Regions from separate parts of the Homo sapiens genome. Here regions 1, 2 and 3 are each linked to region 4. Evidence: promoter capture Hi-C in 16 types of primary human blood cells and fetal thymus (Javierre and others, 2016). All regions are on one chromosome and are shown on one strand. The core of a region is centred on a gene start or on the middle of the fragment in contact, and the rest is flanking DNA. Distances in the headings are between cores, read along the strand shown. Region 1 holds the start of FHIP1A-DT (FHIP1A divergent transcript). Region 2 has its middle 8.9 kb from the start of SH3D19-AS1. Region 3 holds the start of LRBA (LPS responsive beige-like anchor protein). Region 4 holds the start of FBXW7 (F-box and WD repeat domain containing 7).

The links. Contacts are between HindIII fragments. The CHiCAGO score rates a contact against its expected background, and 5 or more counts as called.
Region 1: a contact is called between a fragment that was not itself captured here and the fragment with the promoter of FBXW7 in region 4, in 1 of 17 cell types (fetal thymus). The highest score is 5.4, in fetal thymus.
Region 2: a fragment that was not itself captured here is called in contact with the fragment with the promoter of FBXW7 in region 4 in 1 of 17 cell types (total CD8 T cells); the score reaches 5.7 in total CD8 T cells.
Region 3: a contact is called between the fragment with the promoter of LRBA here and the fragment with the promoter of FBXW7 in region 4, in 1 of 17 cell types (non-activated CD4 T cells). The highest score is 6.5, in non-activated CD4 T cells.

Annotation. Positions count from the first base shown.
Region 1 is chr4:151,404,898-151,410,503 of GRCh38, reverse strand. FHIP1A-DT (FHIP1A divergent transcript) reads left to right here and starts at 1,612. Exons shown (of 3, transcript NR_183963.1): 1 at 1,612-3,321; 2 at 4,896-4,981. FHIP1A (FHF complex subunit HOOK interacting protein 1A) reads right to left here and starts at 1,328. Exons shown (of 14, transcript NM_001109977.3): 1 at 1,039-1,328. RefSeq lists silencers at 1,369-1,538, 1,659-2,131 and enhancers at 1,358-2,057, 2,058-2,757, 2,589-2,898. The HindIII fragment of the contact is 1,353 bases long and covers 3,570-4,922 here.
Region 2 is chr4:151,112,660-151,117,959 of GRCh38, reverse strand. No RefSeq gene overlaps it. Among named protein-coding and RNA genes, the nearest start is that of SH3D19-AS1, 8.9 kb to the left of the region's middle. The HindIII fragment of the contact is 3,783 bases long and covers 1-3,260 here.
Region 3 is chr4:151,011,564-151,016,569 of GRCh38, reverse strand. LRBA (LPS responsive beige-like anchor protein) reads left to right here and starts at 1,286. Exons shown (of 57, transcript NM_001364905.1): 1 at 1,286-1,368; 2 at 1,709-2,143. The coding sequence starts at 1,928. RefSeq lists a silencer at 717-866 and enhancers at 418-1,015, 1,367-1,496, 1,677-1,856. The HindIII fragment of the contact is 17,217 bases long and covers 1-3,792 here.
Region 4 is chr4:152,534,802-152,540,632 of GRCh38, reverse strand. FBXW7 (F-box and WD repeat domain containing 7) reads left to right here and starts at 4,541. Exons shown (of 14, transcript NM_001349798.2): 1 at 4,541-5,506; 2 at 5,600-5,692. MIR4453HG (MIR4453 host gene) reads right to left here and starts at 4,369. Exons shown (of 1, transcript NR_033797.2): 1 at 1,370-4,369. MIR4453 (microRNA 4453) reads right to left here and starts at 4,205; the gene lies at 4,117-4,205. RefSeq lists enhancers at 4,246-4,605, 4,311-4,846 and a silencer at 4,716-5,505. The HindIII fragment of the contact is 7,748 bases long and covers 2,457-5,831 here.

The sequences.
Region 1 (5,606 bases), core at 2,997-5,496, 1.1 Mb after region 4:
TGACCTATATAATTTCATCAGGGCTGCTATGACTATTAGCAGGGAGCAGCTGACTTCCTAATGAGATGAATTTGATAGCACAGCCCTTCCAGAGAAGCCAAGGGAGCAAGCCCAATCTATAGGGAAGCAACAATTGTTAGGCATTGTTTACTCCTCCTCCTGAAAGCTGTCTCTCCTTCTCAACATTTGGCTCTTTCCCTTCAGGGGGGTTTCCCTGTCCCTGGATAGCTGGGGCTGCAGCATCTGCTGAATAGTGGAAGCTAGATCTGCTGTGAATGGGTGGGTCCAGGAGGCTGGGACACTAATTCACTAGACCTGCTCATGTGATTCCCAAAGTCCCAAGCCAACAAGGCTACCGCCGCCTGCACCAACACCTCGCTCTGACCAGGCCTGAAATAAGACACCAAGGTAGTTCTTCCCACTCCCTAGCAGAAGCGGAGTTAACAAGGGACCTTTGTTGAGCCAGAGGAAACACAAACACATACACACTATCAATAATAACCACGACTTGAACGCAGTTTCATCACAGAATTTACGAAATTGAGCAACAGCTACCTAACCAGTAAGTCCTTACACCAGGAAAGGGCTGCAAACCTCAGAGGGGCACCGCCTCTGTCTCCTGTGTAAGCAAGTTGATTTACAGGGGAAACCTGAACTCCACATCTCTTTGCCTTTTCCTGTGCCTCCCAGAGGACCCTGGGACCAAGGAATGGGATGGAGGGCCCTAATGACATATTCCTTCGTCAAAACAAGCTGGCTCTCTCTCTCCCAGGGTCAGTCACCGCGTTACGCCCCGTCCCGGAGCCCGAAACCCTAGAAGTCACCTCCTCCCCCCTGCGCCCCCGCCCGACGCAGCGACCTCGTTTGGAACATCCCCAGCCGGCCCCCAGCCCAATGCCTGCTCCCTCAGCCCAATGCCCGCACCCCCTGCCCAGTTGGCGGATGCAGAGAAGGGACATTTCGACTCTCCCTCCTCCTTCAACCCTCTAAAATAAAAGAATCCCTCAAGCGCAAATCTCCGGCCAGCACAGCACCTACCTGTCCCCGGCCGTGGCTCCTCCTCCCCGAGCAGTGGGGCTCGCTGGACAAGTGTCCTCAGATAGTCCAGAAAGTTTGCTCTGCGGTCCCGGGGACGCCTGCGCGGGACCCAGTGAGGAAAGCCGGGCTGGCTCCTCGCACCTCGGGCGGCCGCCGCTCGAAAGTCTTGGCCCAGGTCCTCCAGGCCCGGCTCAAACTCAGGAGTGCCCGGGAAGAATGTAGGTCGTGAGAAGGTCGGAGCGCAACTTTTCGAAGGTGCGTCAGCCGCGGGCTGAGGCGCGTGGGTCACTGCCTCCCCCCAGCCTCTCCCTAGTGAGCGCGGGGGGGGCGGGGGCGGGGGCGGGGGCCGGGGCGGGGCAGGGGCGGGGGTGGGGCCCAACCTGCCTGGAGGCCTCGGGGAGCGCGCCCCGGCCCCGCCCCCGCCGCCGCCGGCCCCGCCTCTGCCGCTGGGACACGCCGCCGCCAGGTGCGCCGGGGACTTAGGCAGTGCCGCGCCGCACGGCCCGCGCCGGTTTCCAAGGTGAAGGAGGAGGAGCCTCTGAGGGAAAGTTTCCACAGAAACTTGAGCTGGGCGCAGTGTAGCACTCGCGCCCTTGGGGGCTAGCGTTTGGCCGGAGCTACACACTCTTTACTCACGCACGCACACCGCCGTACACAGCACAATCGTTCACCGTCCCGCCAAAGGCTCGTCTCTCGGGTTCTGCCTAGTGGAAGGAGTCGGACAACGCCGCACGTCACGGGCGTTTCGGATTTCTTGCTTCCCAAAGGTTTGACGGCGGCCACCGGCGCCCCGGCCCAGCTCTGCTTTCCTTTGCTGACTCCTTCCTTTAGGTGTGAATTTTAAAATGCTGATACCGCCCCAAGAGAGCTGAGTCAAGTGAGGCAAACGTTCGCCTGTTGTTCTCCTGACAGACTCCCTGCAGTGGGCAGGGGAAATGTGGCCTTGGCCGACATTAATGAAGTGCCAGGATGGAGGGAGGGGGCCTGCTGATTTGTTCTGTTTTACTTTTTAAGGGTAACTAGAGCGTTACTGGAGTCGTCTGTGGGTTTGGGGAGTATGTGGCGCGTGTGTGTGTCACACATTTCACTGGCAACTCCCGCCAACCCCTTCCCAAGAAATGAAGGCTCTAATGTGGGCAGTTCTGCAACAAAGGTGAAACTTCCCCAAATCACGATTCCCCGCAAGATGAGAGAGCAGGTGCAGCATCCATTTTCCCACTATCACGCTTGAGATGGTGGCTTTGGGCACTGCCGGGTGCCCCGACATCCTTCCCAGAGCCCAGCCTTCCCACCCAGGCCCGGCCCTGCGCGGCCGCCTGCCTTTGCATCAGAGACCGCGGCTGTGCCATTGCCAAGGTGGGCAGCGCCGCCTCGCTTCCCCATTCCTCCGTCTCCCACGCCTCTTGCGTGTTTGAGTCGCGAAGTGATGGACTTTAAATCTCAGAGGAGGAATGAGAAACTTGGTTAGTGGCTCTCTTGGCATGTTCGTAGCCCTGTGGTTGAAGTGGCTGAAACCTGCGTTGAGCCTCAGTCCAAGCAGCTGGGGCCACACCAGTTTGCAAAAGCGGATGTGGCAGTTTCCACCGCAGCAGCAGCCTGCTGGCGCCTCATCAGATTCTCCTTTGGAGGAAGTATCTTCTTCCCTTCATTCTCGGTGAATGGCATCCAGAGATAACCAAAATCAGGTGTATCTAGTTTCAAGTTCTGTCTTGCAACCGTGATAATTGGAGGATGCAAACTTTACACTTTCTTCTCTAGCTGTCTACCACCACTGCTGCGCTTGTGGATGACTGCAGGAACACCGGGTACTTGCCACAAGTATCTCTCCAGATTCATCAGCCTTTCACCTGTGACAAGCTCAGTCAAGAAGTGGCTCCTAAGTAAAAGCTGGGGAAGAACAAGGAAGATAGAGCTCAGAGTAGAAAGCTGTGAAGTTCTGCACAACAGGTCCCCTTGGCCTGCTCTAACAGTTGGAAGGTGGGGGAAGCATTCATTTACTCAACAAATATATACTGAGTGCCTTTTGCATGCTAGGCACGCTTCTAGGGGTTGAGGACACAGCAGAGAGCACAAACAACAATTCCAGCCCTCGTGGAGCTTACCTCTTCCACGTGGGAAAGACAGATGGTAAATGTATAAGGACAATATATGGACTGCTGTATGATTAGAAATGCTATGGAGAGGCTAGGAGTGCTGTCTCATGCCTGTAATCCCGCAGTTTGGGAGGCCAAAGGAGGAGGATCACTTGAGGCCAGAAGTTGGAGACCCAACCTGGGCAACATAGTAAGACCCCCTATCTACAAAAAGTTTAAAAATTAGCCAGGCATGGTGGCGTGCACCTGTAGTCCTAGCTATCCAGGAGGCTGAGGTGGGAGGATCACTTGAGCCCACTGCATTCCAGCCTGGGTGACAGAGTGAGACCCTGTTTTGAAAGAAAGAAAGAAATGCTGTGGATAAAAATTAAGCAGAGAGGGTACATAGAAAGTATGAGGGGTGCTATGTTCGGAGAGGGGTGATGATCAAGGAAAGCTTCTGGAGGAGGTAACATTTGAGGAACGACTTGAGGGAGGTTAGGGATATCTGAGCAGACAACTTCCCAGGCAGAAAGCATAGCAAATGTAAAGGCCCTGAGGCAGGAGTATGCCTAAGTGTACTAGGAGCAATCCAGAAGGCACCATGAAAGAATGGAGAAGATGAAGTCAAAGAAGTGAAAGGTGGGGGTGATGCAGATCAGGTAAGGCTTTTACTCTGAGTGAGTTGGTTGGAGCCATTGGAGGATTTTGTGTAGAAAAGTGACACTTTCTGACATTGTAATTGGATCACTTTGACTGCTGGGTTAAGAATAAACAGTAGGGTGTAAGGGTAGAAGCACAGAGACTGGTTAAGAGGCTACTAAAATAATCTAGGGTCAGCCGGGTGCGGTGGCTCATGCCTGTAATTCCAGCACTTTGGGAGGCCAAGGTGGGTGGGTCACAAGGTCAGGAGATCAAGACCATCCTGGCCAACATGGTGAAACCCCGCCTCTACTAAAAATACAAAAAATTAGCCAGGTGTGGTGGCACGCACCTGTAGTCCCAGCTACTCAGGAGGCTAAGGCAGGAGAATCACTTGAACTCAGGAGGCGGAGGTTGCAGTGAGTAGAGGTTGCAGTGAGCCGAGATTGCACCACTGCACTCCAGCCTGGGCGACAGAGCGAGACTCCATCTCACAAAAAGATAATAATAATAATTGAGGGACAAGAAGATAGAGATGTGGACCAGAGAAATAGTGGTAGAGATGATAAGCTGATGGTTTCCTCACATTGGATGTGGGGTATAAAGGAAGGAGATGAGAAGGACTCTGAGGCTTTTGGCCTGGGCAGCATAAGGATGGAACTGCTATAACAAAGTTGGAGAAGACTTCAAAAGGAGGTTAGGGTAAAATCAAGGCAGGAAGGAGAGGCGCATAATTTGAATGTGGGCAGCGTAAGGACGGAACTGCTATAACAAAGTTGGAGAAGACTTCAAAAGGAGGTTAGGGTAAAATCAAGGCAGGAAAGGAGAGGCGCATAATTTGAATGGTCTTCAGTTTCTTCAACTTATAAAATGAAAGTAATACCTACTTTGTTAAGGTTGTTTTAGGATGACAAATTAGCATAGTGAAGTGTATAACACAATGCCTAATACATGATAGACACTTAAGAATGTTAGTTCCCTCTCTACAAATATGAATTTCATTCATATCCATTATGCCCTCTGGGAGTGAAACAGACTCATTCTTTTGAGGAAATAAGTCTTGCTAAAGGTAAAGGGGCTGTCTCCTTCTCCCATTCTTGCCATATGACACTGTCTGCTCTCTCTTTGTCTTCCACCATGAAGACAGGCATGGTAGCTCATGTGGAAGCTTCCCGAGGCCCTCACCCAGAAGCAGATGCTGGAGCCATGCTTGTACAGCTTGCAGAACTGTAAGCCAATTAAAACTCTTTTCTTTATAAATTAAAATAGATAAATAAAAATAAAGGATAAGCAGATGTGGTGGTACGGGCCTATAGTCCCAACTGCTTAGGAGGCTGAGGCAGAAGGATCAATTGAGCCCAGGAGGTCGAGGTTGCAGTGAGCTTTGAGTGCCACTGCACGCCCACCTGGGCAACAGAGTGAGACCCTGTCTCTTCTTAAAAAAAAAAAAAGTTGGAAAATATCTATTACATGGAAATATATTTATAATATTGTATAAAGTAAGTCTACTATAAAAGTAAGTGTGTAAAGTAAGATTCTCTTTACAAATATTAATAATGATTATCTCAGCCAGGCATGGTAGCTTATGCCTGTAATCCCAGAACTTTGGGAGGCCGAGGCAGGTGGATCACCTGAGGTCAGGAGTTCGAGACCAGCCTGACCAACAAGGTGAAACCCCGTCTCTACTAAAAATACAACAATTAGCTGGGCGTGTTGGCAGGCGCCTGTAATCCCAGCCACTCGTGAGTCTGAAGCAAGAGAATCACTTGAACCTGGGAGGCGGAGGTTGCAGTGAGCCAAGATTGCACCATTGCACTTCAGCCTAGGCAACAAGAGTGAAACTCCATCTCAAAA
Region 2 (5,300 bases), core at 120-2,619, 1.4 Mb after region 4:
CCACTGTGCCCCGCTAATTTTTTTGTATTTTTAGTAGGGACCAGGTTTCATCATGTTGGCCAGACAGGTCTTGAACTCCTGACCTCAAGTGATCCATCCGCCTCGGCCTCTGAAAGTGCTGGGATTACAGGCGTGAGCCCCGGCATCCAGCCTAATTTTTTATTTTTTGTAAAGACGGGGTTTCACCATGTTACCCAGGCTGGTGTTGAACTCCTGAGCTCAAGCAGTCTTCTCGCCTCGGCCTCTCAAAGTGCTGGGTTTGCAGGCGTGAGCCACCTTGTCCAGCCAACTGAATTTTTTTCAGAACTAACGTGAAGTCATTTTCTAACTTGTGCCTTTTTACTTCACTGTAATTAAAGAAGGAAAAAAAATAGAAAGCCTGACTCAGAACAACACTACCATCTAGGGGCCGCTCTCTTAATTGCGAGCTCATCCTGTTATACCACAGAAGAGAGCCCTTGGAGACCAGAGTTCAACTTGCAGAGGTTAAATGATTTGCCTAAAGTCACAGTTACTTGCAGAGCCTAAAGTAAAACCTATCTCTGCGGATTTCCAATCCAGTTCTTTTTCCGTTTATTATGGCAAAGTGATAACATTTTTTTTAGCAGTTAAACAAGAAGAATTGATCCGTTTCATTGGCCTGTAGTGGTTGTAGCCTCTAATACTTAACGATTAGAAAGAATTACACAGTATGTATTAAAGCCTTGAAGTTTTATCCTTCAGGAAGAAAAGTCCTGTCAGCTTCTTGGTTTTATGTGGACAATTTATATTGATGTTACCTAGAAACTGAAACATGAATGGATCCACTAATGTGGATTCCTTTTTCTCTTTAATAGAAAATATTCAAAAATTTAGAACATCAGATCTTGTACAGCTGTATCTTGTAGGGCTGTGCCCTTGGCAACAGTAGAGCAATCATAAATCTAGATTTTCATTAAAATATAACACAAAACACTGTTATTAGTATTTTGGAGTATAATAGATTAACCAAAGCACTGTTAAGCTGATAGATTTATATTTCAGAGTCTGAGACATATTCTGATTTTTTTAAAGGAATTCTAATTATATGTATACCATGGATTATTTATCTTCAAGTACTGTAAATTAGGCAATAATTAAATGAAATATTTGGTTGTCTATGTTTCACAAAAATTAACTAACAATACCAAAATATTGGCCTCTGGCTGAGCACTATGACTCACGCCTGTAATCTCAGCACTTTGGGAGGCCAAGGCGGGTGGATAACCTGAGGTCAGGAGTTCAAAACCAGCCTGGCCAACATGGTGAAACCCTGTCTCTACTAAAAATACAAAAATTAGCCAGGCTATGGTGGCGTGGGCCTGTAATCCCAGCTACTGGGTGAGGCAGGAGAATTGCGCAAACCTGGGAAATGGAGGTTGCAGTGAGCTGAGATTATGCCACTGCACTGCAGTCTGGGCAACAGAGAGTGACACCATCTCAAAAAAAAAATGTGTGTGTGTGTATATATACATATATGTATATATGTGTATGTGTATATGTATGTGTGTATACATGTATGTGTGTATGAATGTATACGCATATGTATATGTGTGTACACGTGTGTATATATACATATGTATGTGTATGCATAGTATATACATACATGTGTATATATACATATGTATGTATATGCATAGTGTATACATACATATGTATGTATATGCAGTGTATACATACATATGTATACATACGTATGTGTATATGTATATATACGTATACATGTATACATGCATGCATTTATACATATGTATGCACATATATACATATACACATATGTGTATACACATACACACACTTTAAATATATACATACATATACACATACGTATGTATGCGTGTATGTATATACATATACACATACATATATACATATACGTATACACAAATGTATATGTGGTAATATACACATATATACTTACATATACATGCACATATACACATATATATACATACACATATATACGTGTATATACATATATGTATCAAAAAAATAATAATAGGGCCGGGATGGATGTTATACACTTCTAGGAGCTGACACCTGCAATAATTTTTCTGCCTTGACTTCTTTTTTTTTTTTTTTTTCTGAGACGTAGTTTTGCCCTTGCTGCCCAGGCTGGAGTCCAATGGTGCGATCTTGGCTCACTGCAACCTCTGCCCCCAGGTTCCAGCAATTCTCGTGCCTCAGCCTCCGAAGTAGCTAGGATTAGAGGTGCCCGCCACCACGCTTTGCTAGTTTTTTGTATCTGTATTTTTATTTTTGAGATGGAGTTTCGCTCGTCAACCCAGGCTGGAGTGCAATGGTGTGATTTTGGCTCACCGCAACCTCTGCCTCCTGGGTTGAAGCAATTCTCCTGCCTCAGCCTCCCAAGTAGCTGGGATTACAGGTGCCCACCACCATGCCCAGCTAATTTTTATATTTTTAGTAAAGACAGGATTTCACCATGTTGGTCAGGCTGGTCTCAAACTCATGACCTCAGGTGATCCACCCGCCTTGGCCTCCCAAAGTGCTGGGATTATAGGCATGAGCCACCGTGCCCAGCCAATTTTTTGTATTTTTAGTAGACATGGAGTTTCGCCACTTTGGCCAGGCTGGTCTTGAACTCCTGTCCTCAGGTGATCCACCCGCCTCACCCTCCCAAAGTACTGGGATTACAGGTGTGAGCCACCGCACCCAGCCCTACTTTGACTTCTTAAATGATCTTAGCAAATGGAAACTCATTACCCTTCATAGCTGTCACACTTGCATTGCCTATCACAGCGTTACGTCAGAGAATTAATGACTCATTAAATTGGTATGACTGGATATTTAAAGATACTAAAGATTATTACTGAAATTTGGAGCTGTGTTAATAGGATTTTGGTTACATTTCTTTTTAAGAAATCATTTCAGAGATACATGATGAAATATTTACATTTGATAAGTTAAATTTGCTTCAAATAATTGAGGAGGAGAAATTGTCAGGAACTGTGCAGTGTTTGACATTTTACCCAACTTGTAAGCTAAACATTTAGCCTGGCATGGTTTCATGGATGTTAGCAGAAGACATGAGACTTCTGGGACAGGAGCAAAACACTTCATGATAGCAAAAGTGAGAACCAGAGTTTCGTGTTCTTATGTGTCAGTTTCCCATACCCCACCAAATCCCGAGGAGGTGATGCAAAGGGCCCATTATACAGTGAGTTGTGTGACAGGAGAGGAACACTGAGATCCACCACTTTTATAGCAAATGGAAGCAAGCTTGCTTTTTTTCCTGGGGGAGACGTTACCTCATCCTTCAAGGTTGCTCACAAGGGTGCAAACACAGCCCTGAGAAGTGGCCAGGGTAAAGAACAGTCAAGGGATTGTATTCTTGGCATACTCAGCAAGAATGTGCAGAGACACTTAGGGTATACAGCACATTGCCTCTGTCACTATTCACTCCTCAGCCTGACACATTCTTGGCCAAACTTAAATTTTTACACAAGTGTGCTACTCTGACAACCACTTCGATTAAGCTAACCAACAGAAGCCAGAACCAAATCCACTCAGTTTGTCTCACATGACGTTTAATTAAGTCTATTATCAAGACTCAAAGCAGCAGATGAAGCCAACCTGCAGTATTGATCTCAGTCTTACTCTCCAGGGTCCCAGACAGCTTACTGTGAATAATCTCAGGGAGTACCAGTAGGTCTGATTTTAGGCAGCCATGAGGTATTCTAGGGCCAGGGTATTTTATTCATTAAGACCTGTACAGAGTTTAAACTGATCTGTTAATCTCTGGTGTCGCTGCAATAATTAGACAATTGATGGGCCAGAAAGCGACCTCTGTCCTTAATGGGGAGACATCTCATGACCCATTTTTCTCCTACCCATTTTTCCCCTATATACCAAAATATAACCCCAAAGGACACAAGTCACTTTGGTTCAGGACTCGTTGCTAAACCTGATTTGTATCATCACATTGGTTAAGTCACAGGGGCAGTGTCACCAAATAGCTGCAGCTTCGGTTGCCATATACGGTATTACCCAAGACCACTCAGGCGTCAAAAGCATATGATCAGTCAGATTGAATCAAGGTTGTGTTGGTCCTGATGTCTGTATACATTCGAATTTGGGTGCTGTTGTTGATGGTATCAGGCACAGCAGAACAGTGCAGGACTGACCATGTTTATGAGAGATTTTCGTTTTCATAGCACATTTCATGGTGGTCTGGACAAGCCCAGCAGCAGGTCAGACTGTTAGCTGCAGCTGCCACTTGATTCAGGTAGTGGTTTTGAATCAAGGGCAGTGGTTCCAGCTGGGGGCAGTTTTGCCCTCCAGGGGACATTTGGCAATGTCTGAGCCATTTTTATTTGTCACAACTAGAGGGAAGGTGCTACTGGCATCTAGTGGGTAGAGGCCAGTGTAACTGCTAAACAACGAATTATCTGGCCTAAAATATTAATAGTGCCAAGGTTGAGAAACTGACCTAGGGAACAAATTGTGCATTAATTATTTCCCTTCCAGCTAGGCATGGTGGTTCACACCTGTAATCCCAGCACTCTGGGAGGCTGAGGCAGAAGGATCGCTTGAGCCAGGAGTTTTAAGACCAGCCTGGGTCTTAATATGACACATTAGTTTCAAGAGCTGTAATTGTATGGTCAAAGTCAGTTGGTCAGACCGAAACAGCAACGTCATAGCCTAAGAAGGTCTTAACAGCAGTCAGCCCCTCCGCCATGAGTTGCCCTAACAGGAGGTCAAATGGCCAGTGTAGTCAGTCAGTTAGGAGCAAGCGGGCCCATGTCCTGTATAGTATGGCCTTATTTACCTCCAGACAAATGGGATAACTTTAGCAGGGGTCACCAAGACTGGCATGCATGAGAAAGAGTTCTTTACTGGGTGCCTAGTCCGCCATGGTGGATGTGTTGCCATTGTGAGGACAATCCAGGTGATGCTGGCTTCATCAGCAGCTTGATTCCACTAGGTGTTATCAGTCACAGGTGTTATCAGCCCTTAACTGTAGTCATCTACATGAATGACCCAGATGTTCTGGTTGGCAGCCACAATTTATTTTCATAGTTTATAGCCTTAAAAGAGATGTCTTTAGTCTGCCTTTCAACTGGCAGACCAGATGTCTAGGCCATTAGTAACAGCCCAAGTCAGCAAAAACTAGTGTGGTGGCTCACACCTGTAATCTCAACTTTGGGAGGCTGAGGCAGGAGAATCACTTGAGTACAAGAGTTCAAGACCAGCCTGGGCAACATAGCGAGATGCCCATCTCTACAAAAATTTTAAAAAGCAGGTCATGGGGACACACACCT
Region 3 (5,006 bases), core at 37-2,536, 1.5 Mb after region 4:
AGTATGAGGACCTATCTGTACTACCTAATATAATTTATCTTTTGATCTACTCTGAGAATGACGCGAGCCTAATCTTCACATTGGAAAATCACGAGAGGAAAAAACCCTTCGGAGGTCTACAGGCACAAGGAACCCTGTCTCCACGCTGTTTATAGCAGCTGTCTCAGGAATCCTCTGCCTAGAATGAATGTGGGAGAGGTTTCGTGGCGCGGCAGCTGCAAAGCAAGGAATCTTTCCCATTCCTCGTCGACTCGGTCCCCTCCCCTCCCCTCCCGAATGGCGGCAGCTGCCGAGGTATCCCAGTGGAAATCTCCAAGTCTCCGCCGAGAGCGGCGGGCGGGCAACAGCTGAAAGCAGCCAGGGGTGGGGACTCCTCGCTCCCATTGGGCAGGGACAGCAGCCTCACTGGCTCCAGCGCCGTCACCTCTCTGGCTCGTAGAGGTGCCTCAGGTGTTCTTCTCCAAGTCCAATGAGACACCTAGGCAACGCAGCGCGTGTTCCCTCCGCGCCAAGAGACCCTACGGTAACTTAACAACAGCAGGAGCGCCAAAATCCCCGCCTCAGGACTTGGCAGAAGCACCTCCCGAGGTCCGAGAGTGGGAGAGGGGAAAGTGTAGGCCCTCGGACGGAAGGGTCTCTCCTCGCCGGGCCGGGTACACACCTGGTGCTACCAGAGCAGCGCGCCTAGTGCAGCCGGAAGCCCCAGCCCAGCACTCCGGCTGGCTCGGGGCCCCCTTGGCTGTCCGCGCGTCGTCACCGCGCCCCCGCCGCGCGGCTGCCTCCGCCTTCGCGCCCTCCCGCCCCGCGCACTCGCGCTCGCGCACGCGCACGCCGCGCCCGGCAGCACTCGGCGCTGTCATGGCGGCCGGGAGCAGCTTCAGTGGGCACACGACAGCCGCGCGACCCGTGGCGGGGCGAGCTGTGGCAGTAGCATCCTCACCACTCGCAGCAGCCTCAGCCGCGGCGCCCGTAGCGCCAGCAGCGGCTGCTTTTGCAAAGGCTGAGCGCAGGGGCGGGGCGGGCCAGGAAGCCATGGAGTTCTGTGCAGCCGCGGACTCCCGGGGAGCGGACTAGGGAAACTTGGAGGCTGCGACCAGGTGCACTGACCTCTCTGTCCTCCCTTCTCTCCCTGCGGTGGCCGCTGGGTTTCTCTGGCCGCTCCCCTCCCTTCCTGCCACCACACACACCTCCCCACCCCTTCCCGTCGAATCTCAGGTGCCTGAGAGAGGTGCTTCACTCCTCCCACTGGGCCGAGCATTTAGAATAATCACCGCCCCCTTCCCCCGCCTTTTCCTGCCCTGGATCTCCGCCGCCACCTCGGTCTCGCTGCTCCTGGGCGGGGGGTGAGGACGAGTCCGGAGTATCTGGGTGAGGAAGAACTTTCTACCTCTGTGATAGCTTGTGGGCCCCCCTTCTTTCCTCCGATCCCTCCTTTCCCCGCGACAGTTTCTCTTTCTAGTGCACCTGTGAGGAGAGGTTACCCTGCGCCTAGAACCTGCACGAGAGTGGGGGAGGAGTGAGCCTGTTCGGGGGCCTCTTGGACCTGCCTTCACCCAGAACCCAGCTTTTTGAGCCCGGGAGAAGCGGGTGGCTAGTAGTGGGGTGCCTTTAGTAACTTACTTGACCGACAATAACTATTTCCCTCTTGTCCCCTCAAAACCCTAAAACAAAACCTAGCCTATTTAACATATATTTAATCTTCCAATAGGGTTTGGCGTTGTTGTCAGCCTCGGGGAGAGAGATTGGACAAATATTCTCCAAGAGGAGGAGGGCGACGCCAAGGACTTTCCACATCAACTGCTTTGGGGTATCTCCACAAGTTGGAAGAGGGACCCTTTCGTTTTGCATTGCGTGTGTTGTGCTCATTACCAGTGCAGCGACTGCCGTCCCAGGGTGACTCTGAGTTGTCCTTTATCGTGAGCTAGCAATGGCTAGCGAAGACAATCGTGTCCCTTCCCCGCCACCAACAGGTGATGACGGGGGAGGTGGAGGGAGAGAAGAAACCCCTACTGAAGGGGGTGCATTGTCTCTGAAACCAGGGCTCCCCATCAGGGGCATCAGAATGAAATTTGCCGTGTTGACCGGTTTGGTTGAAGTTGGAGAAGTATCCAATAGGGATATTGTAGAAACTGTCTTTAACCTGGTAAGTCCATGAATATTTTATAAGCATATACTCTTTTCAGTGGGTTGGGGAACAAGATCTTAAAGCTGGAGCCATGTGGTTTACTCACACTGATGGTGACTTTTTTCGTGTATAGGGACACAAAATTCTACTCACCTAAATGAAACAATTTCATCTGTTTTTTAGATTGAAGGGAATTGTGCAAACTTAGATGATCCAGGTTTTGTGAAAGTGAACACATCACTTTTGTGCTAAGGAAATAATTGTTGCTATGGAAGTATTGGGGGGAGGTTCTAGCGGAGGAGTTATCTCTAATTTTTTTTTTCTTGGCTTGTATGCCTAAGTCTGCGTTTCCCTTTACCACTTTAAATAATTTCTTGTGACCTTTTTTTGGACTTGAGAATTAATGTCTTTGATTCTGTCGAAGTTATGTTTTGCTACAATAAGTTTAAAAATTTGTTTGTAGTGCTGATGCAAGATTAATTTGCTGCAAAGTTAGTATTTTTAATTTTGACTAGTTTTATTTTTAGACATAACTAACAAAAGTTAAATTGGTGATGAATTTAGGATTGCATTTAAAGTAATCTTGTGAAAATTGAATGGCAATATGAAAAAAGGAATTGAAGCAGATACAGTATAATTTTTATGTGTTTTATAAATTCATGTCTAGCAGGAAAGCATAGTTAGTCATTGGAAGTTGCTGATTATACTAAGATGAGCTATGAATGCTTTTTTTCGGGTGGGGGTGGGAGGGGGATGAGGCCTCTCTATGTTGCCCAGGCTGTTCTCAAACTCCTAAGTTCAAGCTATCCTCCTGCTTCAGTCTTATGAGTAGTTGTGGCTATAGGCATGCATCACTGTATAGGGCTTAAATTGTTTTTAAATTGAGGTATAATTCATATATTATACAATTCTACCTTTAATTAATTCATTAACTTATTTATTTAGAGATGAGGTCTCACTCTGTTGCCTAGGCTAGTTTTGAATTCCTGGGTTCAGGCGATTCTCCCCTCTTGTCTCCTAAGTAGCTGGAACTACTGGCATGCGCCATTGTGCCTGGCTTGGTTATCATTTATAATGGAGACTTTTTAGATTTCTTTATTCCAGCCTCTCTTGCCCATCAACTTAAAGAATCAAAAGGAAATCTGGCCCTAAAATACTTCCCCCTTTTCTACCTACCCACCTGTGTTAGAGGATAACAGGACCAAATATAAACATGCAGTTAATTGTAATAACTGTTTAGCACCTTTCCCTTTGCCTCTTTTCAAGGTTAGGCTTGTTTTATTCTGGGGCAGTTAATTATTTCTTTCACTAGACCTTCTCTAATGGTCTGGTCACCTGCAGTACAACTTCTAGAATAAGAAAGTAGCTAGATGGAATTCTGGCCGGGCGTGGTGACTCACGCCTGTAATCCCAGCACCTCAGGAAGCCGAGGCGGGCACATCACTTGAGGTTAGGAGTTTGAGACTGGCCTAGTCAACATGGTGAAACCCCATCTCTACTAAAAATACAAAAAAATTAGCTGGATGCGCTTGCTTGTACCCAGGAGGTGGAGGTTGCTGTGAGCCGAGATCGTGCCAATGCACTCCAGCCTGGGTGGCAGAGTGAGAGACTGTTTCAAAAAAAAAAAAAAAAAAAAGAAATTCACTTACTTTTGAAGAATGAAAGCTTTGAACAATTGGATATTTCTATGTCAGTTTATTGGGAGTTTATGTATAAACACCTATAGACACACACATGCATATTTTAAAAAACTGCATATTATGGAAATGTTCAAATATATGCAAAAATAGAATAGTATAATGAACTCTGGTATCCGTTGTGCAGCTTCAACAGTTGTCAACATTTTGGGGATCTTGTGTGTGCGCATGTGTGTGGGGCTTTCATATGTAAGTCTGAGGAAGATAAATGGTAAATTGATTGCTTTACCTCAAAATAGACTTGAAACATTTCCTTTCTGATTTTTTGTTCTTTTTTAAAATGTCATATGCCTTCAGTGAGAAACAGAAATTTGTGGTAGTAATATAATCCATAATTACTTATTTGTGTGTGAAGACACAACATCTTTTGGCAGAAGGAGGATTTGAACTCCTGTTCTTTAGAATGTGCTGTGTTGGAGTGGATGACCAAACGTGAGTCATTTGCATTTTTATCATTAAAGAAAATCCAAATTCTATAGCAGCATTTGCTTATACGCTTCCTAGAACTGTAGACCTGGTATAGATTTTAAGGTCATTGGTTAAGTCCTTCAAAGCTGCGTATTTGCAGGATAGTAGGTGCCTGGATAGAAGGAGAGAGAAGAGTCTGTTCAGTTAGTTACCCTCCTCTTCAATATCATTCGCTTGTCAGGTAGGGCAGGAAAAGTTGCTGAGAATATTAGGTAGCAGTTTCTCCCCTTCCATTGTCCCTTAAAATACTTTTCATGCTCTTTCATGGATTATCTGGGGTTTTGGCCACTCTAGAAAATCTTTGGAAGCAGCTGCGCACAGTGGCTCATGCTTGTAATCCCAGAGCTTTGGGAGGTTCACTTGAGGCCAAGAGTTTGAGACCAGCCTGGGCACTATAGTGAGACCCTGTCTCTACAAAAAAAAAAATTAAATAAAAAATTAGCTGGGCATGGTGGCATATACCTGTGGTCCCAGCTACTTGGGAGGATGAGGTGGGAGGATCCCTTGAGCCCAGGAGTTCGAGGCTACAGTGAGCTACAATCATGCAGAGCAACACCCTGAAAAAAAAAATTAGAACGAAAGTATTGGGATTCTGTAAATTAGTCCATCTCAATGTTGTTAGTACTGCTACACGTAAATATTTCCTAATTGATAGTTAGTCTTTTTTTTTTTTTTTTTTTTTGAGATAGAGTCTCAGTCTGTTGCCCAGGCTGGAG
Region 4 (5,831 bases), core at 3,292-5,791:
TGGAAAGGAGCGGGTTCCCAGTGAAGTCCCACCTTTAGGCTGGGGAAGGCCTGAAGCCTGGGGATTGGACTGCCCATCCTGCACACTAGAGGGGGAACTTATGGTGCTTTTTCCTAGGCCTGCCCAAGGACCAATCAGCATGCACTTCCTCCCCTGAGGCCCGGGGCTCAGTCAGAACTGAGCAGGCGATGGATGACCAGCTGCAGAGAGGAGCTACCTTCTTTGCCGCTAGCTGAATACTTGTTAGGATGACCAGGTGCAGAGAGTAGCTATCCTCCCTGCTGAGAACTGAACACTTGTTGGGACAACCTTCCTGCATAGAGGAGCTCTCCTCTCTGCTGAGAGCTGAAAACTCATCAGGACAACCTGCCTAGCAGAAAGGAGCTGCCCTCCCTGCTAGCAGCTGAACACTCACTGGGACACCCTGGCTGCAGAAAGGAGCTATCCACTGTGGGTCTCCTCTCAGCTGTTCCATTACTCAATAACATCTTGCTCACCCTCCACTTGTCTGTGTACCTCATTCTTCCTGGTCACGGGACAAGAACTTGGGACCTGCCAGATGGCGAGGCTAAACGAGATATAACACAAATGGGGCTGAGACATCCCCATTGCTTGCCACGTTGCGGGTGAAGAGGAGGGAAGGGCTGTGGCCTTTTGGGGAGCCCAGACCTGGGAGCTCCCCAAGCCAACACTGTGACTCCCTCTTTGGGTCCCTGCAGTTCCTGGCGTCTCCAAGCTTCCGGGTGCCAATGTGTTCCCTGGTGCCAGCTGTGGAAGCTGCTTGCAGTATGCCTGGTCCAGCCACAGCCTTGCAGAGAGCTGGTGCATCTGGAGCTGCCCGCCCCACTGCAGCAGCTGGTGTGTCTGACTGCGCAGTAGCCAGACCTCACGCTCGCTCACACATGCCTTGCCACTCCACGCCGTACTTGCCCTTGGCAGGTGTGGGATCCAGGCCGGTAGCATAAGCTGAGCACAGCCTGCCAGGCCAAGTAGGTGGAATGAGCCCAGTGGGCCTGAGCAAGACTTGTGCAAAGGCGCCACAGGCTACAGAGGTTTCTGGCCAGAAAAGCGACACCCTAAACATCCCATAACATTACTTTACCTGTTCAAATGTGGACTATGAAAGGATATTGAAAAGTTGGGCATCTCAGAGACTTAGACATTGAAAAGATACTAACGCGCCACAAAAATGTAAATCCAAATAGCTAGTTGTATACAAGAAGGTCCTCAACAGCATCAGTAATCAGAGAAATGACAGTTAAAACCACAATGATATATTACCATACACCCACCAGACTGGCAAAACCAAAAAGACCAATAATGTCAAGTGTTGTGAAGGTGTGGAGCAATGGGACTCATATATACCTAGTGTGACTGTGTAACCCTCTAGAAAAGAACTTGGCATTATTTATTCAAGTTTATGATACATATTACACTCCCAGGTATATGTTATACAGAAACTGACGTAGATGTGATGGAATACATATATGAAGAATGTTCACATTAGCATTTATAACAATCCTAAACTGGAAACAACCCAGATGTCCATCAGCAATAGAATGGCTAAACATATTGTCACATATTGTTATAATGGGACACTGTAATATGCAGCAATGAAAATGCACAAATTACAGCTATAGGAACAACCTGAACAACATATGAATTAAAAACAATGTTGAGCAAAAGCAGCAAGAACAACAGATTACATATTATATTGTTCCAGTTACATAAAGTTCAAAAGAAAGAGTGAGACTAAACAATATATTGTTTAGGGATGCATGCTTGCGACAAAGCGACAAAGAAAAGCAGGGAAATGATTATCACAAATGTTAGAATAATGACTACACTTAGGAGGGAGGGAAAGAGTTGTGTTCGGGAAGGTCATGGCAGGGAGGGGAACTTCTGAGTTGCTGGAAATATTCCATTTCTTGACCTGGTTGATTGGTTACATGGTGGTTTCCTTTATAATCACTTATACTATATAATTGCTTTATGTATTTAAACTATATTTCACAATAAAAATGTTAAAATTAATATAGATAGTATTTCTGGAAAGCAAAATTTTGCCAGATAATTTAGCTTACACAATCTTTGACAGTAAAAGCCACTGATATGGAATAACGAAACACTGATTAGTTTCTTGTAAGAGCTCACTTTCAAGTGTAGAGGTCAAAAACCTTATAAGAGTCTCCGTTTTTCTATATTTTAACACAGTATTTAGATCCTTATCTTAAATTGATGAACCAGGGAAGTAACTATTAGCTAAAACTTCAGATTTTTTGGAATTTTTAATTAACTAGCTGTTTTCTCCTCTGGATTAATAAGCAATACAAGGAACTAAAGAGATGCAGACCAAGTTGGAAATGTATGAACTTCCTTCTCTCCAGTCTCCAGTTCCAGCTGTTTCCTCCTGTTATCAAGCTGGGTGCTGAGGTGGGTATCTAGCCCAGTAAGCTTAGTGTGCTGTTATTAAATACTTTCTAAGTAAGTGGCTCAGGCTCTCCTGAGTGCCCTTCTGTTCCTCAGCACTGAGGTTGTAAGGTGGAGCCACTGACAATGAAAACAGAAGATCACGCTGCTGAAAAACCCTATGTGGTACACACTTAACTGGAGGTGTTCTCTGCTGGGCTGCAGAACTCTGATGTTTGCACTCTTTTCCTTCAAAGCCTACAAAGGTTAAACTCTCTGAGGTGTTTAGCTTCACAAAATCCCCTAAATCTGTGTGTTTTACTCCTTTAATTTCCACCATTCCCCTGTTGTAAGATAGGAAGAGGGGGAAAAACAAAAAATATTTATTTTGTAGCCATGTGAGACCATCACTTGTTGGTCTGATTACCTGTGAGTCTTATTTGGAAGGCTGTAGCAGGGGATTGGTCACGTAAAGACAGAAAAATCCAGGGTAATTTAAGCAGGATATTTAACCTGGCTCTTGGAACTTCAGGTCAAGGGCAGTAGGGTCAGGTGCTAGTCTGTGAGTCTCTCCTTGGTTTTGCCACATCCTCCTTTGCCCCTCTCACCACCTTTCCCGCAGCATTTTAATGAACACGAGCCCTTGGATTTACCCAGTTAAAAGTTTCCTTAGTTTACTGTTTGCAGATGGTAGTGGCAGTAGTGGGAGAAACCCAGAGCTTCCCACATTTGTCTATAATACACTTGCTCCTACCTTACCCCCTCCTCCAGGTGGAAAGACTTGTAAAATCCATTACTACTGCTTCCCAAGGAGGTAGAGTGTACTAGGGTCCAGGGACAGAATTGTGGAATCTGCTTTCATCATTGCTGCTGCTTTAATCTTTTTCTCATACTATTCACTGAAGACAGATTTCTGAGGATTCTGGTCCTTTTATCTTAAATTTGTTTTCCTAGAGAACTACACTTTAAACTTCATGAGTTTCTACTTAACTTTCCTTTCCAGGATAACATCTGTAGGAAAAGCTGCATAATAGTAATAACACTTATTTTAGAAAGAAAATAACCTTTGAGTCAGACCTGAAACAGGCCAACATTTCTTGATGACAACGTACACTGATGAACCAAGACCAGAAGCTCTCGAAAGCTCCAAACCGTAAGAAAGAACCATTCGTAAAAGTGAGGGACTATTAAATTCTTCCCCTGACAGTCAAAAATCCTTCAGCAATCTCCCAGAGGATGGCTCCCTTCCAATCCTCCCTTCCCGCCGCCCTAACAATCTGCGCGAGGATGGGTCCCTTCCCTTGCTCGGCATTTCGTCTCCTTTTCCACTAAAGACTCAGGTTGTGACTCTGTACTCAAGCCGCACCCCTGTTTCCTTTCATGGCTAGGGGGAGGGGAGGAATGTATTACAACTCATTTTTACAATGCACTGCAGTTTACAAAGCGCTTGCACTTCCACCATATCCTCTGAGCTTCACGAGTGCCACGTGAGAGAGGCATTCATTCATTCATTCATTCATCAAACATTTGCTCGGCCCGACCACACGTTATCCAACGCTGGGTCTCACCCCACGCCACGGGAAGGGTGGGGCGCTCTCTCCCTGGAGCAGGTGCAGATCAGGCTGTAGGGTAACTCCTCGATCAGTCCGGCTTTTCGAGGGTCTGTTTGGGGCCAAATGCCTCACCTTCGGGTGGTGCGCGCAGCTGCCTGAAGACGCGGCCTGGGCCTCCTCCTTCCTCCCAAAGGAGCAGTCCCCACCTGCCCCGAAGGAAACCGCTACAGACCAAGCTCTCCAGGCCGCCCTCGGGTCAGGGGTAAGATCGGGCGGCAGCTTAGGCTCGACTCGGCTCCTCCCCTTCCTCTCTTCAGTTCTGACGCGGCCGTAGAGGCGGCAGCGGCGGTGGCGGCTGCGAGTCCCGCGGCCCGAGGCGCACCCACCCGCTCGCCGATCCCCACTTCCTCTTCCCTTGGAGCGTCATCAGAGCGCGCCAGAGGCGCCCAGGGCGGGGTGGCTGGAAGGGGGAAAAAGGCCAGCGGAGGAAGCCTCAGAGCGGAAAGAAGAGGGAGGGGGAAGAGAGCGGTTGCTAGGTGACTTGCGTCATCGGCAGGCGCCGCTCTCCTCCCGCCCCTCTCTCTGGAGTGAGGCGAGAGCCCCGCACAGAGCGAGGGAGACAGCGAGCTGAGCTCCGGGCGCTGCCGCTGCCGCTGCCGCCGCCGCCGCCGCTGAGACTGAGAGCGAAGGAGCATCCGAGAGATCCAGTCCCCCTGCACTGGCCGCCGCCGAGACCTTCGCTCTCACCTGGGCCAGCGGGAGCCGCGGCCGCACTCCTTTCCCCCCCTCACCTTCCCGGCCGGCAGCGGCGGCTGCACACGCCGGAGCCGGAGCCAGAGCCGGAGCCCGAGCCTGAGCCGGAGCCGGCGGCTTGGGGGGCAGGGAGGCGGCTACCACGGGCCGGGAGTGGGTAGCTGCTCCGCGGTGAGAGAACGCTGAGGAGGCGCCAGAGCTTCTGCCTCGTCCCGTGGGGCGTGGGGCGAGACCCCCAAGGTGTAGGGAGGGGGGTCCCAGCCGCAGCGACACATGCGGGAGCCGGGAGCGGGGGCGGCGCCGAGCGGAGCCGGCCGGGTCCCTCGCCTTGCCGCCGACTCGGCCACCCGCCCGGGGCCGTAGCATCTTGCCCCGGAGTGTATGAACCGGGGCCCCAACCAAGCTCGGCAACCACCCCCCGGCCGGGGGGGCGGGGACCCCGATGTGAAGCGGCGGCTGGGGCGGCGGAGAGAACAGGACCGACGCCGCCGTCCTTTCCTCACCTTCCCCCTCCCCTCAGCCCCCTCCGGGGGTCTTCTCCCTTGGCCAGTCGCCGGCCCCCCGGCTCCTTGGCTGGACTCCGGGAGGAGTTCCTAGAGCCCCCCTCCCCCGCCCCAGTCCCGAGGGCGGCGGGGCCGGGGGGGACCCGGGGGGCCGGCCGCAGCCTCCACCCAGAGGAAACTTTACAAAAACAAAATCCGGAGTCTCCCAAACCTGACTGTCCCGGGAGAAGTGGCCCTGGACGGGCAGAAGCCGCAGCCTGAAAAGACCCAGGAAGAGGAAAAGAGGAGGTAAGCGGGGCCGCCGCCTCCCCTCCCCTGGCAGCGCGGAAGAGACCCGGGTTGCCGCCTGGTTTAGCGACACGAGCACCGCTTCTTCCTCAGTACCGCGCCGGAGCCTTCCGCAGCTGCCGCTTCAGTCCGAAGGAGGAAGGGAACCAACCCACTTTCTCGGCGCCGCGGCTCTTTTCTAAAAGTGTGAGTGGCCCCGGGAGAGGGAATTGAGGGGGAGAAAGTGGGAGGATGCCGGCGCTTCCTCCTGGAGTTTTGCTGATGTTCTCCAGTAGTGTTGGGAGTCTATCAATGAGGGAGTCTAGCTTTATTCACGGAGGGGGGA